2 separate regions of the Homo sapiens genome follow, and region 1 is linked to region 2. The links are contacts of gene promoters, found by promoter capture Hi-C in blood cells and fetal thymus (Javierre and others, 2016). All regions are on one chromosome and are shown on one strand. Each heading gives the region's core, a stretch centred on a gene start or on the middle of the fragment in contact. The rest is flanking DNA. Distances are from core to core; before and after follow the strand shown.

The links. The method cuts DNA at HindIII sites, captures the fragments that hold promoters and counts their contacts. A CHiCAGO score of 5 or more calls a contact.
Region 1: a fragment that was not itself captured here is called in contact with the fragment with the promoter of CD93 in region 2 in 1 of 17 cell types (erythroblasts); the score reaches 5.6 in erythroblasts.

What each region holds. Positions count from the first base shown.
Region 1 is chr20:22,339,161-22,346,280 of GRCh38, forward strand. It overlaps the pseudogene BBLNP1. Among named protein-coding and RNA genes, the nearest start is that of LINC01427, 60 kb to the left of the region's middle. The HindIII fragment of the contact is 1,474 bases long and covers 1,808-3,281 here.
Region 2 is chr20:23,080,608-23,088,005 of GRCh38, forward strand. CD93 (CD93 molecule) reads right to left here and starts at 5,717. Exons shown (of 2, transcript NM_012072.4): 1 at 3,652-5,717; 2 at 1-3,367. The coding sequence starts at 5,585. The coding sequence ends at 3,343. RefSeq lists an enhancer at 5,701-5,880. The HindIII fragment of the contact is 6,182 bases long and covers 2,665-7,398 here.

The sequences.
Region 1 (7,120 bases), core at 1,295-3,794, 740 kb before region 2:
CCCTACAAATGGTGTCATGTATTTTTTTTCAGTCAGTTGTGTCATATTCTGGCTTCATACTTTTTTCCATGCTCATTTAAGGCCATGGAGTTGTCTAATACCTGTTAAGATCTTGGATAGTTTTGACCACCAGGAGGCGTGTTAGACCAGCAAATTGACACTTCGTCACTAGCGTCCATCCTTGAACACTTCGGAAGATTAAAGGTTAAAGATGAACGTGAGCCTCACTGAAAGTGATTGTAGAGAGATAAAGAGAAGGATTATAATTTTCAAAAGAAACTCTGAGGGTTTTTTTGTTTTGTTTTGCTTTTCAATTCAGCTCAAACCAAATGGTTGCTTTTTTTCCGTTTTTGTAAACTTGCGTCATGTACCTGTGAATTTCGGGCAGGGGCTGAGGTGTGGGGAGCTCTGCTGAAACTTTAAAGCAGAGTCGTGATTCTCTGCCCCCCTCCATTACAAAAGGCAGGCAATAATGTAAATAGAACGTTAGACAGGCTGTGGTTTGTGCTCAGCTGCTCAGGGTTTGCAGGACTGCTGCTTCCAGGAATCTAGCTTTCTCCAGGCTCAGCCTCAATTCAAGTAAGGCTGGACTGGCAGGACTAAATAGAAACTTACCCACTTTTGTTACCTCTTTTCTGAGTCCAGCAGGGAGGCAATCTTAGATCGTAGAAATTACTGCCCTACAGAAATGCCGATGTCCAGAGAGAAAGTGGCATGTCTAGTGCTGTTAATTTCACTACTGCTTTGTGTTATCGCTTTAATAAGATAGGGACTTATCCCAGCGGGGGCTGGGAGTAATGCCATTATTAAATGATTTTCTCTTGGCTCCAAACCCACCTTTCTATATCCTGCCTTGTGATGCCAGCACTGGGACTCTGCAAACTGCAGTTGGGCTTGGCCAGATGCTCCTGGCAAGGGGACGCTAGAGTGAGGCCGCAAATCTGGAGGGAGAGGGGCCCGACCGTTCCTCCTGAGGACTTCCTCCTCCTCCCAGCATCTCTCCAGCAAGGCCGCTTCCACCCAGCAGTGGCAGTTCCTTCCCACTGTTGCAGCTGAATCATGTTTGTAGTTTTCCAAAACTCACAAAACCAGCCCTATCATGCCCTCTTAGAGACTTCAGCTTACCCTTGCATAACTCCAAGTCCAAAGCCTGTGCAAAACAGTTCAGCTGACTTGGAAGGGAGATTGGCAGTTTCTTACAAAAGTAATCATATTGTTACCCTGTGAAGCAGCAGGCAGGCTCTTTGATATTTGCCCAGATAAGTTGAAAACTTGTGTCTCTACAAAAAAACTACATGAGAATGTTTATGCCAACTTTATTCATAATTGCCAAAATTTGGATACAACCAAGATGTCCTTCAACAGCGAGTGGATAAACAGACTGTAGTACATCCAGACGATGGAATATTATTCAGTAATAAAAAGAAAAAGCTAACCAGCCACAGAAAAAGACATAGAGGAACCTTAAACGCATATTGATAAAGAAAGAAGTCAATCTGAAAAGGCTGCATACTGTATGATTTCAACGATATGACATTCTGGAAAAGCCAAATCTATGGAGAAGTAAAAAGAGTAGTGTTTGTCAGAGGTTCAGCTGGGGTGGGGTTGTTGGGGATGAGTAGAGGGAGGGATGAATAGGTACAGGAGAGACAATTTTTTAATTTTTATTTTTTTAAGACGGGGTCTTATTCTGTCACCCAAGCTGAAGCATGATCATAGCTCACTGCAGCCTTGAACTATGGGACTCAAGGGATCTCCCATTGCAGCCTCCAGAATAGCTGAGACCACAGGCACACACCACCACACAAGCTTAGCACAGGAGATTTTTAGGGCAGTTAAAAGTATTCTGTATGGTACCCTATGGTGGATGCATGTCATTATGCATTTGTCAAAACCCATAGGATGTACCCAAGAGTGAACCCTAATGTGAACTCTGGACTTAACTATGGACTTTAATGAATAATAACATAACAATATTGGCTCATCAATTATAACAAATGTACCACATCATTGCAAGATGGTAATAATAAGGGGAGTGGGGGGGTGCAGGAGCATATGGGAACTTGATACCATCTACTCAATTTTCCAAAAACCTAAAACTGCTCTAAAAATAGTCTATTAATTAATTATTTAAGAACTCAAAGAAACAAAAGCCTTGGCAGTGTTTTTTACATTGATCAGTTATGTGCCCCACCATGGCTGGTCCAGGCCTGAGTCTCTCTTGCTCCACTCTTAGCATCTCCTGTGTGTATTTCGTCAAACCCATGTCAACTGTGTGGGCCACTCTCTGAACTCCTCCCTCTCCATGAGCTCCCAGGATTTTCTAGTTCCCTGGAGTCCCTTTTTAGGTCTTCTGGCAACAAAGCTGGAATTTTAGTTACTTGGTTCTGTGTGTACTTCAGCAACTGCATCTGCATCGAGTGCCGAGGGATAAAAGTAACAGACAAAAAAAAAAAATCACCAGCAGTTTCAGCACTTTAAGTTCCAGTCCTCTTCTATGAGTCACTTTTCAGAGTCCTCACAGCTGCCCTGTGCCTTATGTTCAGGTTTTATAGCGACATCCGCTGAGCAAGATGAGTGGCATGTGCTTATCCCATTATACGTGGGACCAGGACTTCTTATTATTTAGATATTCACATGACCAGTGCCAAATGGATATATCGGCTATAACATAAAGTGACCTGCACCTCTCAAAAATGCCAAGGTCAAATCAGACAAAAACTACTGAGGAGTTGTCCAAAATTAAAGCAGACCGAAGAGACGGAGCATAGCTCTAAAGTATATCACTGGAGAAACTGGCAACATTTAAATACAGTCTGTGGATTGAAAGTATTGTATCCAAGTTAAATGTGCCGATTTGGGTAACTGTTATGGTTATGGAAAGGGATATCCTGTTCTTTGGAAATAGACACCAAAATATATATTAGGCAGAGGGGATGCTATCTTTAGCTCACTTTCAAATGGTTCAAAATGCACATACACATACACTCTCTCTCACATACATATGCATGCACACGCGCACACACACACACACCTGCACATGCATGCAAGCTGAGGGGTGTAGAAGAAGGAACAATCCTAAAGGGACTGCTATTCCTAACCTGACCCTGTCCTAGGCCACCAGCACACAGCACCCAACCAGCATTCAACCTTCCGACTGGACATGGACACCCTCTAGTTGCCTCAATGGCTCAGGGCACATGCGGAGGGCTGGCTGGGCCCAGCTGACAAGAATTCATATATTTGGTGAACTTCCTTAGAGTGAAATAGACAGGCTCACAAGCTTGTTCCGTGAGATACACACACACACACACACACACACACACACACTCCCCACTCAATGAGTCGTTAGAATGGAGAAGCACATGTTTAAAATCCATAAAACAAGACATAGAACAACAGAGTAGCTTGATGGTGAACTCGGCATCTTTGTGGCTGTGTTCATGTGGCATTCATTCATTCATTCATTCATTCGATAAATGTTTACTGAGCTACCACTTGCAAGGAAGTGCTGACAATAGTCCTGTAAAAAAGACACTTTCTCTGCACTCCTTAAAATGACAATCTTTTGGTGGAGAATTATTAGCAGGGTTTATTGGGCCCCACCTGGGGAACTCAGGTAGAAATAAGAGGACAGTTTTGCAGAGGGCTGCAAGTCTCCCAGTGCTGCACAGAGGAAAAAGCTTGAGAACTTCAGTTGAATATTGTCAGGCTAACACCACGCTTGTCCCTGGAGACCTGGGACCACAAGACAGAAAGAAGGCTATTAGGTCTTAGGGACTCTACCCTGCTAAGGAGTTTGGACGTTTTGTTTTTGGTGTTTTGTTTTGTTTTGTTTTGTTTTGTTTTGTTTTGTTTTGACAGAGTCTTTCTCTGTTGCCCAGGCTAGAGTGCAGTGGCACGATCTCGGCTCACTGCAAAGTCTGCCTCCCAGGTTCAAGCAATTCTCCTGCCTCAGCCTCCTGAGCGGCTGGGATTACAGGCGTCCGCCACCGTGCCCGACTAATTTTTGTATTTTTTAGTAGAGACGGAGTTTCACCATCTTGGCCAGGCTGGTCTCGAATTCCTGACCTCCTGATCCACCCACCTCGGCTTCTCAAAGTGCTAGAATTACAGGCGTGAGCCACCGCTCTCGGCCGGAGTTTGGACTTTTGATAGGACACCCGATGCAATTGATTGATGTGTGTGTGTGTGTGTGTGTGTGTGTGTGTGTGTGTGTGTGTGAGATCCATTGAATGTGGACGCTCAAGGCCTGGACAGAGTAGGAAGTGCACAGAAGGCTGAGCAGGCAGGCACGTGGGTGGGACTCAGGCCCACCTCTGGCCCCAGAAGGGGATGCCAGGCGGTGGGGACCAGCTTAGACAGGCAAAGGGGACTGTGGGAAGGTGTGGGAAGCTGTCCCAGGCTGCAGACCCACCAGGGTACCCTGAAGGCTGGCCCTGGAGAAGGTATTTAAGCCAAGAGGTGAGTGCCCAAGCCGGAGCCTGGCCCAGGGGACACGGTTGGGCCTGTTTCGGGGCACCCGGAACCTAGGGACTGGCATGGCCGGGACCTCCCGGAGCTGCTGCTGGAACTCAAGGCGCCTCTTCCGGTTGGACTTCAGCGGCTACTGGAGGCAGGCGTGGAGGGGGTCGTTCTCCTGCCGGTGGTCCAGACAGAAGTTGACCTGGTCCAGGATGTGATGGCAGCATATTCTGCTTCCCGGAAGCCGTCGCCCTTGCCTTGGTCTCCCGCTGTCCCCGCACGCCCACGTTCCGCATGGGACCTGACTCAGGCACCAGGAGGGCCCCGCGACGAAGGAGCGCGGCGACCTTCGCTCTGAAAGCGGGAGCCGGGTGGGGGCATTGGGGGTGGTCAGGGAGGATCGCAGATGCGTTTTAGACAATAAGACAACAGACAGTGGCGATTCCCAACCCTGGCTGCACAATAGAATGAGGGCCTTTTGGGGTCTCAAACTGATCTAAGAGTAAAGTCTAATAATTTTTAAAAATCACCCTAGGCCAGTGGTTCTGAAAATATGGTCCAGAGACCCTCGAGGCCCTAAGGATCCTTTTCAGAGGTCCATAAATTCAAAACTATTTTCCTAATACTGTGCTCCTGAGAAATGACTTGCTTTATTCACTAGTGTACTCGGGATTTCCAGAGGCGAGGGCACATGGGATGTTCCAGCAGATCAAAAGCAGAGGCAGACACGAAATTCCAGGTGTCTTGTTAAGCCAGTCTTTAAATAGAAGGCAAGCAGGTGAAATTCTTTCCGCCCAGCTTCTGTTTTGGAAAAGTATAGTATGTTTCATAAAACTGTTCATTTATGTTACATAAGTATTATTTTATTTATTTATTTATTTATTTATTTATTTGAGATGGAGTCTCTCTCTGTCGCCCAGGCTGGAGTGCAGTGGTGCGATCTTGGCTCACTGCAACCTCTGCCTGGGTTCAAGTGATTCTCTTGTGTCAGCCTTCCGAGTAACTGGGATTACAGGCAAGCCCCACCACGCTCCGCTAATTTTTGTATTTTTGGTAGACACGGGGTTTCACCATGTTGGCCAGGCTGGTCTCGAACTCTTGACCTCAAGTAATCCGCTGGCCTCTGACTCCCAATGTGCTGGGATTACAGGCTTAAGTCAAGGCACTGGGCCGATTAATGCATAAGCATTTTTAAATCTCAGTTATATTTTCTAATACATTAACTATCAGTAGATAAGCCCACACAAACCAAATCTCTTTACATTGTCAATAATTTTAAAAGTATAAGGGGATCCTGAGACCCCAAAGTTTGAGAACCTCTGTCTAGACATTAATACTAAAAGATAAAGAGTAGCCTTAAGAGTTACCTAACAAGGGATTCAAGGAGGGTTTTTTAAATTATTCATTTACAGAAGCTGGGGCCAGGATGGACCCTGAATGTACAAGTAGGTCAGATCCACAAAGGCCACATTTGCAGCTGCCTGGTCTCCCCTTCGTCCTTCCTCATCAATTCCCATCCACCAGAAGCTTGGATTTGGCATAAAATATTGATCCCCTAATTCTGAATCTCATCCTACAGACCTTGTTTCTTGCACAAGCTGAGTTCACCATAAATACAGAGCAGGGGAGTTCCTTTGAAAGTGGCAGATTGTTAAGAACTGCTTTGGAAAGCTGATCATAACTCTTGCCTCTTGTTACCTAGATTAACTTTCCTGCATGGTTTGCGGGTTCTCTATGGCTATTTCTCTCTTTCTTACAGTTTAATAAAGGATTGGGTTGAGCCATATAAAATGATCATTTTTGCAGGAAAAAAATAACTGGATATCGGCAATTTTATATGATGTAACCTAATACATTGCATGGCATTGTCACATTGTATTTTATTTAACCCAGGCAAGAAATGTGCTTTGCACCCTTGAGTATATGCAAGAACAGCTACCAAAAACAGTTATTCTGAAAATGGCAAGATGTCTTAAAAAGGATAGAAGCCCTTGCTTCTTGGCCTTATTCAGGGACCTTGCTGCTGGTGTGTAGTTGAACATGAGAGCAAAGCAGGGTCTACTGATTCCAAAGTCTGTGCTGTCAGACCATGGTGGCTAGACATTGAAGTAACCAGCAATTTATTAACTAGCACATCTCTGTACTCCATTGTGATGCTAACCTCCATTTCTCATGTGAATCATTGCAGGATTCTTAGAGTATATTCTCAGGTCTAGGAAAACTTAGATTACACCCTTTATGACTCCTGTAAACAATGTATTATATTGCGAGTTGGTAATATGTACTATTTAACTCAAAGTTTTTGTCATCTGAAAAATGCAGGTAATAATAATATCTACCTAAATGTGTGCAATAATTTAAAGGAAGTTCTTGGTTTATACTAGGCGTGGCCTTGGGGCTCAGTAAATACTATTTTCTCCCTTTCACCACCAAAAATGCATATACACTCATGTGTATGTACAAATTCACGCAACACACACTCTCATGCAAGAACACCCTTGCACATACAAGGATACTCGCTCATACATACATGCTCACACAGTGCTAGTATGCATGAACACTAGTATATGCTGGGGGCAAACACGAATGATAGTGGTAACCTCTTATCCCACTGTGTCTCCATGAAAGCTTTAAAGGGACCACTGTGGAACAGAAG
Region 2 (7,398 bases), core at 4,467-6,966:
AGGCCGACAGTGACCGCAGCCCACTTCCCCACATCCTTAATCAGAGCCTCATGCAGTTCATCCCCACATTACCCAAACATAACGTCGTAGTGCTACACGTAGATGTGTTGCATCATGATGCTATGGCAATGACGATGACGCTTAGGTGTGTGGGCCACCGAAGGCAGAGACCAGATGTGGTTGGTCTTGCCTGGAAGCCAAGCTGTTGAGCAGGGGTGGAGTCCCTCTACAGAGGATGCTCACCAAGTTCTAATGCATTGTCGATAACTGTCCTGCCCTGGTTTTTCTGCATTCCTCAGATTATCTGTGGGAATTGTCCTCCTGCATCCTTTCTCAAATGACAAAGAAGAAAGAAAGAGCAGTGATGGCACCTGAAATTCAGGAATGAGTAGGCATGGCGAGCTGGGTGTGTGAGATGTTCTCTCTTTACATTGTCTGCTTTGAGATGTGGGATGAGGGGAGGGAGAGAGTTGGTCCTGAATATATTCAGTTTTTTCCAAGAGTCTCCCAGAATTATTGACCTATTTGGACAACAAATCTTCATTGTCTTGGTGTCCATCTCCAAGTGAAAACTTCCCCCGTCCCCATGGCCCTGGCTTGTTCTGCTGCTGAACAGGTCACCTGGGCAGAAACACTGTGTCTAGCGAGAAGTTAGCAGGTGGCAGGGTGCACCTCTCCCCATACTGTGACCCTTGGATTCCCCACTGTGCCACGCCCGAGCAAGCTGGGGCCCCTCAGGACAAGGACGATTTGTTAATGGCCTCTTGGCCGGTGGGCATTTGTTTACCCACTACTGTAGCCCCAAGATCCCCCAAACAAGAATTTCCATGCTTCAAAGTAACAGCAAAAATAAACAGGAGAATAAAGCACGTGTTTGAGCCCAGTGGTTTCCATCAGATGCACAACCTGAGCTGTCTGGTTGGGTTGCTGGCTCTCCCCCCGTGGTGGGAGTGGTGTGCAAGAGAAAGCACCACCCAGCAGGAGAGGGACCCAGCCTGCCAGGGAAGGTTTTGAGGAACTGGATTCTTTATCACCCATTTCTCCCCTTGTGGGTTCCACAGAGGGGTTCCATGACCTCCCTGTTGTTGAGAACAGGGCTGCATTCAGAGAACAGACGATGGGCCTGGGCTGTGAGAGCAATCAGAACACTGTGAAAATAGGAGGGCTCGTTGGATCCCAGGAATCATACACAGACTGCGTTGGGGCTGTGGGAAGCCAAGGACAGAAATGTCTCCTTCACCCCAAATGATAAGGGCAAGGATTTTCAAGGCCCAGAGGGAGAAATGTTGCATTTGCATTTATTTAAGTGCTGATGTTGGTCAGCAGCGCATCCAGCCATGTCTTTAGAATCCTCTGAATGGCCAGACAGATGGCTGCTCTCCACACCACAGACTGCCCAGCTTCACACATCACCTAGAGTCTCGTGGCCAAGGAAGTTTTGCCAAATGGACACAGCCTTTGTCTCCCTTAAGTGTTAAACACCAGAGTTCCAACTGAAAACTGGAGACCATGAGATGACTTTAAAAAGAAGTTCCAAATGCCCCATCGAGCCGCACAAAACCTCCATCTTTCCTTTCACTTCCCCTGCCCCTTTAGTTTTCTATTAAAAACAATCTGAACCATAGCATCTATATTTCAAAACTGGCAAGAGTATTAACCCTGCACCTTGTGGCCCTTCAACCACTCCAGAGTGTCACCTCAGAGACCGATGCATTGCTAAGGCAAAACCAGAAACACCCTTTCTCTGAGGCTTTGGGGCCTTGGAGGGAGACACATTTCCTCTGTCTGTTCTCCTGCACAGTGGTGGTAAAAAGCCCACAGGAGACATGAGGCCTCCCAGAGATACTCAGGTAACTTCTAGTGACTCTGACCATCGGTGACCCCCAGGAATGTGTTCCAGTGCCCCAGGCAGAATGGTGCCGTGTCTCTGTGTGTGTGTGTGTGTGTGTGTGTGTGTGTGTGAGAGAGAGAGAGAGAGAGAAAGAGTGCACACTATCGACTACATTATCATAGGGAGAAATATTTGCAAATGTAACTTTTAAAATGAGGATATAATTTAAATGGCTTTGAGCAGTTTTTGCTGTAAAAATGATTTTAGTTAGTCATCTCTTTCCCTCTTCCTTCCCTCCTTACCCCCAATTTTAAGGAAAAGAGACAGAGAACAAAAGTTCCTTAAGCAAACTGCCTGACTAGCTCCCTACTTGGTGTGTGCGCCACCCACACTTCAGGATTTAAAATCTCAGGATGCTGCATCAACTGTGGACTATGAACTGTGCTAAAATGCTTTAAAATGACAACTTTCAAAACACAGTGCATCATCTCCCGTTCACACATCCTTTAGGAAACAGCCTGATGGAACTTTCTGCAGGGCTTCCTCTGTCTGAGCTCGGAGCACTGGCATTCCGGGCAGGATGAAGTGGAGGCGGGGCCACAGGCAGGGTGTCTGAGGCCTGCCCTGGCTCAAAGACAGGTTGTCCTTGAATTTGTTTCCTTGTTAGTGTTGATCACATCCGTAGTCAAGTGTGTGGTAACCTCAGTACATTTGGATGAATTAATTCAAGTATCTGTGAACAAATCCCTGGCCTCTCTCGCCCTAGCCCCGTAGATTATGTGACTTCACAAACACCTGTAATGCACTTCAAGCAACTTTTCTCATATTTTTCAAGCTTCCTTTGCAAATAAACCCAAGGCTATTAGAAATGTAAGAACTAAAGAGGCACTTCCTGCCTCCTTGCCACCTAAGAGGTTAATTGCACTTCTGGCCATTCTGGAGGATGTCAACAGTATCACATTTAGCAAGACTTGTGCTGGCGAAATGGAGGAATGCAAATGTAAAGAAATGTTTCCAGTCCGAACATGTTCCCTTTGACCAAAAAACCAGATCTTCTTACCTAATTGAATAATTAATTGATTTAGTTTTCATCCTAGGAAGAGAAACAAATCATTTCAATCCTAATCAGCATGAGCAACTCACCTTTTCCTCTTAGATGGTGGAAGTGAGCAGAGAAGATATTCAGGGGAGCCCCTTAGCCCCGGCCTCCTCACACCCTGATCCGGAATTGGTCACATTGGAATTTGAAAAGGGAGGGGGAGTAACAATCATTATAGAGTCACGAAATCCCCACCGTGGCACGCCAACACACAGCTTCCACTTCAGGAACATCAAACACCCGTAGAAAATACCTGCATGTTCCAAGGGGCCTTTAAGGAGGAGACTTACAATTGTTTGCTAAGATTCCAGTCCAGTCTTTCAAAAAAATGTGGGTGCCCCTTTGGAATGGGGAGTTCAAAGCTCTGAGGATGGTGGCTGGTGACTCTAGTGTCTCTAGGGCCACCTCACTTTCAGCAGTCTGTCCCAGGTGTCGGACTATGGGAAACAAAACAGACAGCGTTGGAAGCCATGGCGCCTCTGTGCCTGCACGTCCCCACCTTGGGAGAGAGCCCCACGTGCGGCCGTGCTGCAGATGGGCAGTATGCTCTAAGGGGGCCCGAGTGCCTGGCGTGGGGGGAGGTTGAGGGGTCAGCTGCAAGGACCAGGGTGTGTCTGCCCACAGGAAACCTGGGCCTGCTCTTGCTGCCACCTCTTTGTACTGTAGTCAGTGCCCCCATGCCTGCCCATCCCCTCCCCCGGTCACTCAGGGCCCCCTTTACCTGTACTGGTTCTCCATGGCCCTGCTCTCAGCTCGCTCTGGAACCCAGGAGTAACTGTCTGCCGCATTCTGGGGCTTCTTCTCCTTCTTCTCCTCCCTCTTCGCTCTCCGCTTGCGATAGACCAGTAGCCCCAGAGCCAGGGCCAGCAGGAGTAGGATGGCCACCACGGTGCCTAGGATGTAGAATAAAAGCAGCTTTTGCCCGTCAGTGCCATCGTTGTTTTGTGTGGCCACGGAGGAGTCCCCACCTGCAGGCTCCTGGGGGCCAGAGGCAGCTGTGGCGTGATGGATGCTGGGCTCCCTCCAGACGCCTGGGGACCCACTGGGGGCCAGCATCTTGAGTGGGGCAGATGTGATGGGGGCGTCAGATGACAGCGAAGGTCTACTTGTGGTGGGTGTAGCCTTGGGGGTGCCCTCGGGGCCCCTTGTGGGACTGGCTGTTGCAGCACGGGGCACGGTGCTCCCTTCTTTCTCTCCTTTGTCCTCCTCATCGGGGGGCCCAGATGGTGGTCCCAGAGACACAGGCCCCATGGTGCAAGAGACCCCATTTGGGGCCAGCACCCAGCCTGGCAGGCAGCCACAGTGGAAGGACCCTTGTGTGTTGAAGCACAAGCTGTCGCAGAGGGGGCCCCCCGGGCCCACACACTCATCCACGTCCTGGCACTGAGTCCCGTCCTCCCCGGCCAGGACGTAGCCCTCCTCACAGGAGCAGTGAAATGAGCCATCTGTGTTGGTGCAGCCCTGGGCGCAAGGCGAGCGACCCAGAGCACACTCATCCACATCCTGACAGGCCCCCTCTCCAGGACCGCCCGGCTCATAGCCAACCCAGCATTCGCAGCGGAAGCCCCCAGGGGTGTTGACACACTCCTGGGCACAGGGGGAGTCCTGGCATTCATCCACGTCCACACAGTCCAGCTGACTCGAGTCCAGCTGGTACCCTTGGGGGCAGCGGCACGTGTAGTTTTTCCCATGGGGTCCCAGGACGCACGTGGCCCCCCCACGACATGGGCTGGAGCTGCAAGGGTTTCGAGAGGCACAGGTCACCAGGTCATCCAGCAGCCGGAATCCTGGTCGGCAGCCGCAGAGGAAGGAGCCATCCCCCCCTTCAAAGCAGTCCTGGTGGCAGCCCCCATTGTTGAAGTTGCAGCCATACTTGGGGCTGACACAGAGGGGGCCCGAGCTGCCCCAGTCGAACACATCGGGGGCCTTCTCCTTGCACAGGAAATAATGACTCTGAGTCTCGTCCTTGTCACCTTCCCCACAGGCTACATTGGCCGCAGAGGCAAAGGGCACAGCCTCCAAGGAGGAACTGGTGGTCTGGAAGGGGGTGGTGTAGGTCACCTGACCTGGGCCCCCCAGGGCCAGAGGCCGGCACATGCCTTTGAAGCTGAACTTGCACACGAAGCCCTCAATGTTACTTCCGGGGGAGCCTGGGCTCCCACAGGGGCCCTCAGACCACTTGGGGAGGCGGCTGGGAAGGAGCGGCTGGGACAGGTCCAGCAGCAGAGACACACAGCGCTTGGAGATGCACGAGTTCCGGAGCTCCTTGTGCCAGTTAGAGTAAGGCGTGTCCTCCCCCCCGCCCACCCAGCTGAAGCCCTTCAGCGGCAGACTAGGGTCCAGGCACTTGCCCTTCTCTCGCTGGAGCCCAATCCAGAACTTGCTCATCCTCGCCGTCAGGGCTGCCTCCCGCCTCAGGAGCTGGGCCAGTACTCGCTGGACGTGCTGGGCCTCCTCCTTGCTCTTCACAGTGGCCAGGTTGCCCCCGTTCTGGTTGCAGTGGTTCTGGGCCTCGGCAGCGCTCAGCTTGCCCGAGTGGGCCGTGTAGCAGGCGGTCCCCACGCAGACCACCGCCTCCGTGTCAGCTCCCGTCCCCGCCCCGGGCTGGGTCAGGAGCAGCAGCAGCAGCAGCAGCAGGCCCATGGAGGTGGCCATCCCGGTCTCTGTGTGGCCCTCTGCGGGAGGCGAGAAGCCCAGCGGCGACAGGAGCTTCTATCTCGGCTCCCAGCTGGGCCCCAAGGGGAGCTGAGGGGTGAGCTGCAGCCACTCCGGCGCAGAGAAGGACACAAAGGCTGAGGGCTTTCCACGTCCCCCTGACCCAAGGCGCATCCTGTACTGTTGTACTTCTTATTTCTCACCGGATGTTGGGGCTTCCTGCAATGAATAGTTCTCTGACTCCTGCTGCCTTCATCACGGTGCTGTTGTTCATAAAAGGAGTCAGGCAGCTCTGCCGGGTCCCTGGCTCAGCACTGTGGAAACAGCGACGGGGGGAAGACGTTACAGCCCCGAGATACTGCCGGCTTGATTTTGGCTCCATTCTCTTTCTCATGGCATGAGGAGCCTCGGAGGCATGCCATGGAGTGAGCAGGGGCTTTGGGGGCTAGGAACTCGAGGAAGCTCCCTTAGTAACCCATAATAAAATTCCACTTTGGTTTGCAAACCACCAAAAGAGAAAAAAAAAATTCTGAGACTTAAGACACAAGGCCATGGATGGTTATAATTTTCAGCCTTTTTTAGAAGCAAACTGGACTTTCCTTTTGCCTAGCTCATGTTCTCTGTTGACTTTGGGAGCCTTTTTTCTTTTATCCTCCCATCGTGAACCTTAAATAGACAGGCATTTTTTAAATAGGATACGGGTCGTGGGAATGTCTGGGTTTTCAACATAATGCCAAGCTCCTCGATAATGTTAATCCAAATTGGGTGAAATTTGGCAGTTCTGGGGGTTTCATAGTGGAAATATTGCATTGTGAGGTGTCAGGGTCACAAAAAGCATCAGAAAGAAAATGAAAATGTGTCCGGCCTCGTGGCGCAGGGCTTGCAGGCTCACTTCCCCCGGCTCAGGATTCCTAGCAAGGGCCGGAAATCTGGGCAGGGAGCGGGAATCGAAGCCCGGGCAGGCCCTCCCGCGACACCGCGACTCGGCAAAAGCCAGGGACTCACAGTGTGCTTTTCCTGCAGCCACAGACCTTTGCTCATTGGTTGGGATCCCCCAGGAGGGGACCCTGAGACAGGATTTGGGGAGACTAGTTTATGTGGGAGGGGAAGTGAAACAGACAAGGAGGAAGCCAACCCATGATGACTTGCTGAGAAGGTGACCCTGGGCTGCTGGAGCCAGTGCCAGGAAACTCTGGGGGCCTGAGGGGACCACACCTCAGCACCATCTCAGCTGAGGGAGAGGCTCCACTGCTCTCCAAGTCCCCTGTCATTGGTAGCAGGCTGTATCTCTCACTTTGAGAGACTGACTATAAATTCTAGCCCTGCCCAGTGACCAGGGGTCTCTCTCACATAAAACTTGTTTCTATGGACAGACACCCTTGTGGCTCTCGTCTGACCCATGTCCAGTTTATTCCTATCAAGACAGCCACTTCCTAAGAGATCCCTGATGGGAGGAGAGTTGGGTTGGGGTGTGGGTCAGGGGAGATGCAGGAGGCAGCACAAGAAGACACAGGAAGCAACACAAGCACCGTGTCACTTACAGATCCCAGGGAGAGGGCAGTGCACCCCACGGGGCCAGCAAAAAGTGGGGAGCTGTCTGGGTCACAAACACTCACCTGGAGGGGGGTGAAGGGAGAGAGAGAGACCTGGGTCCTAAGCCTTTATTGGGGTCCAGGACGTTTCCCAAGCAGGTTTCCCAAGGGGACTTCTCACTGGTGGGTTTAGAGCAAACAGACACGGGCTCCGTGGGGTCCCTGTGGCTGAGAGGTGGGCATGGCGGCATGTCTGGGAAGTCCCTGTGGGGTGTGGAGTC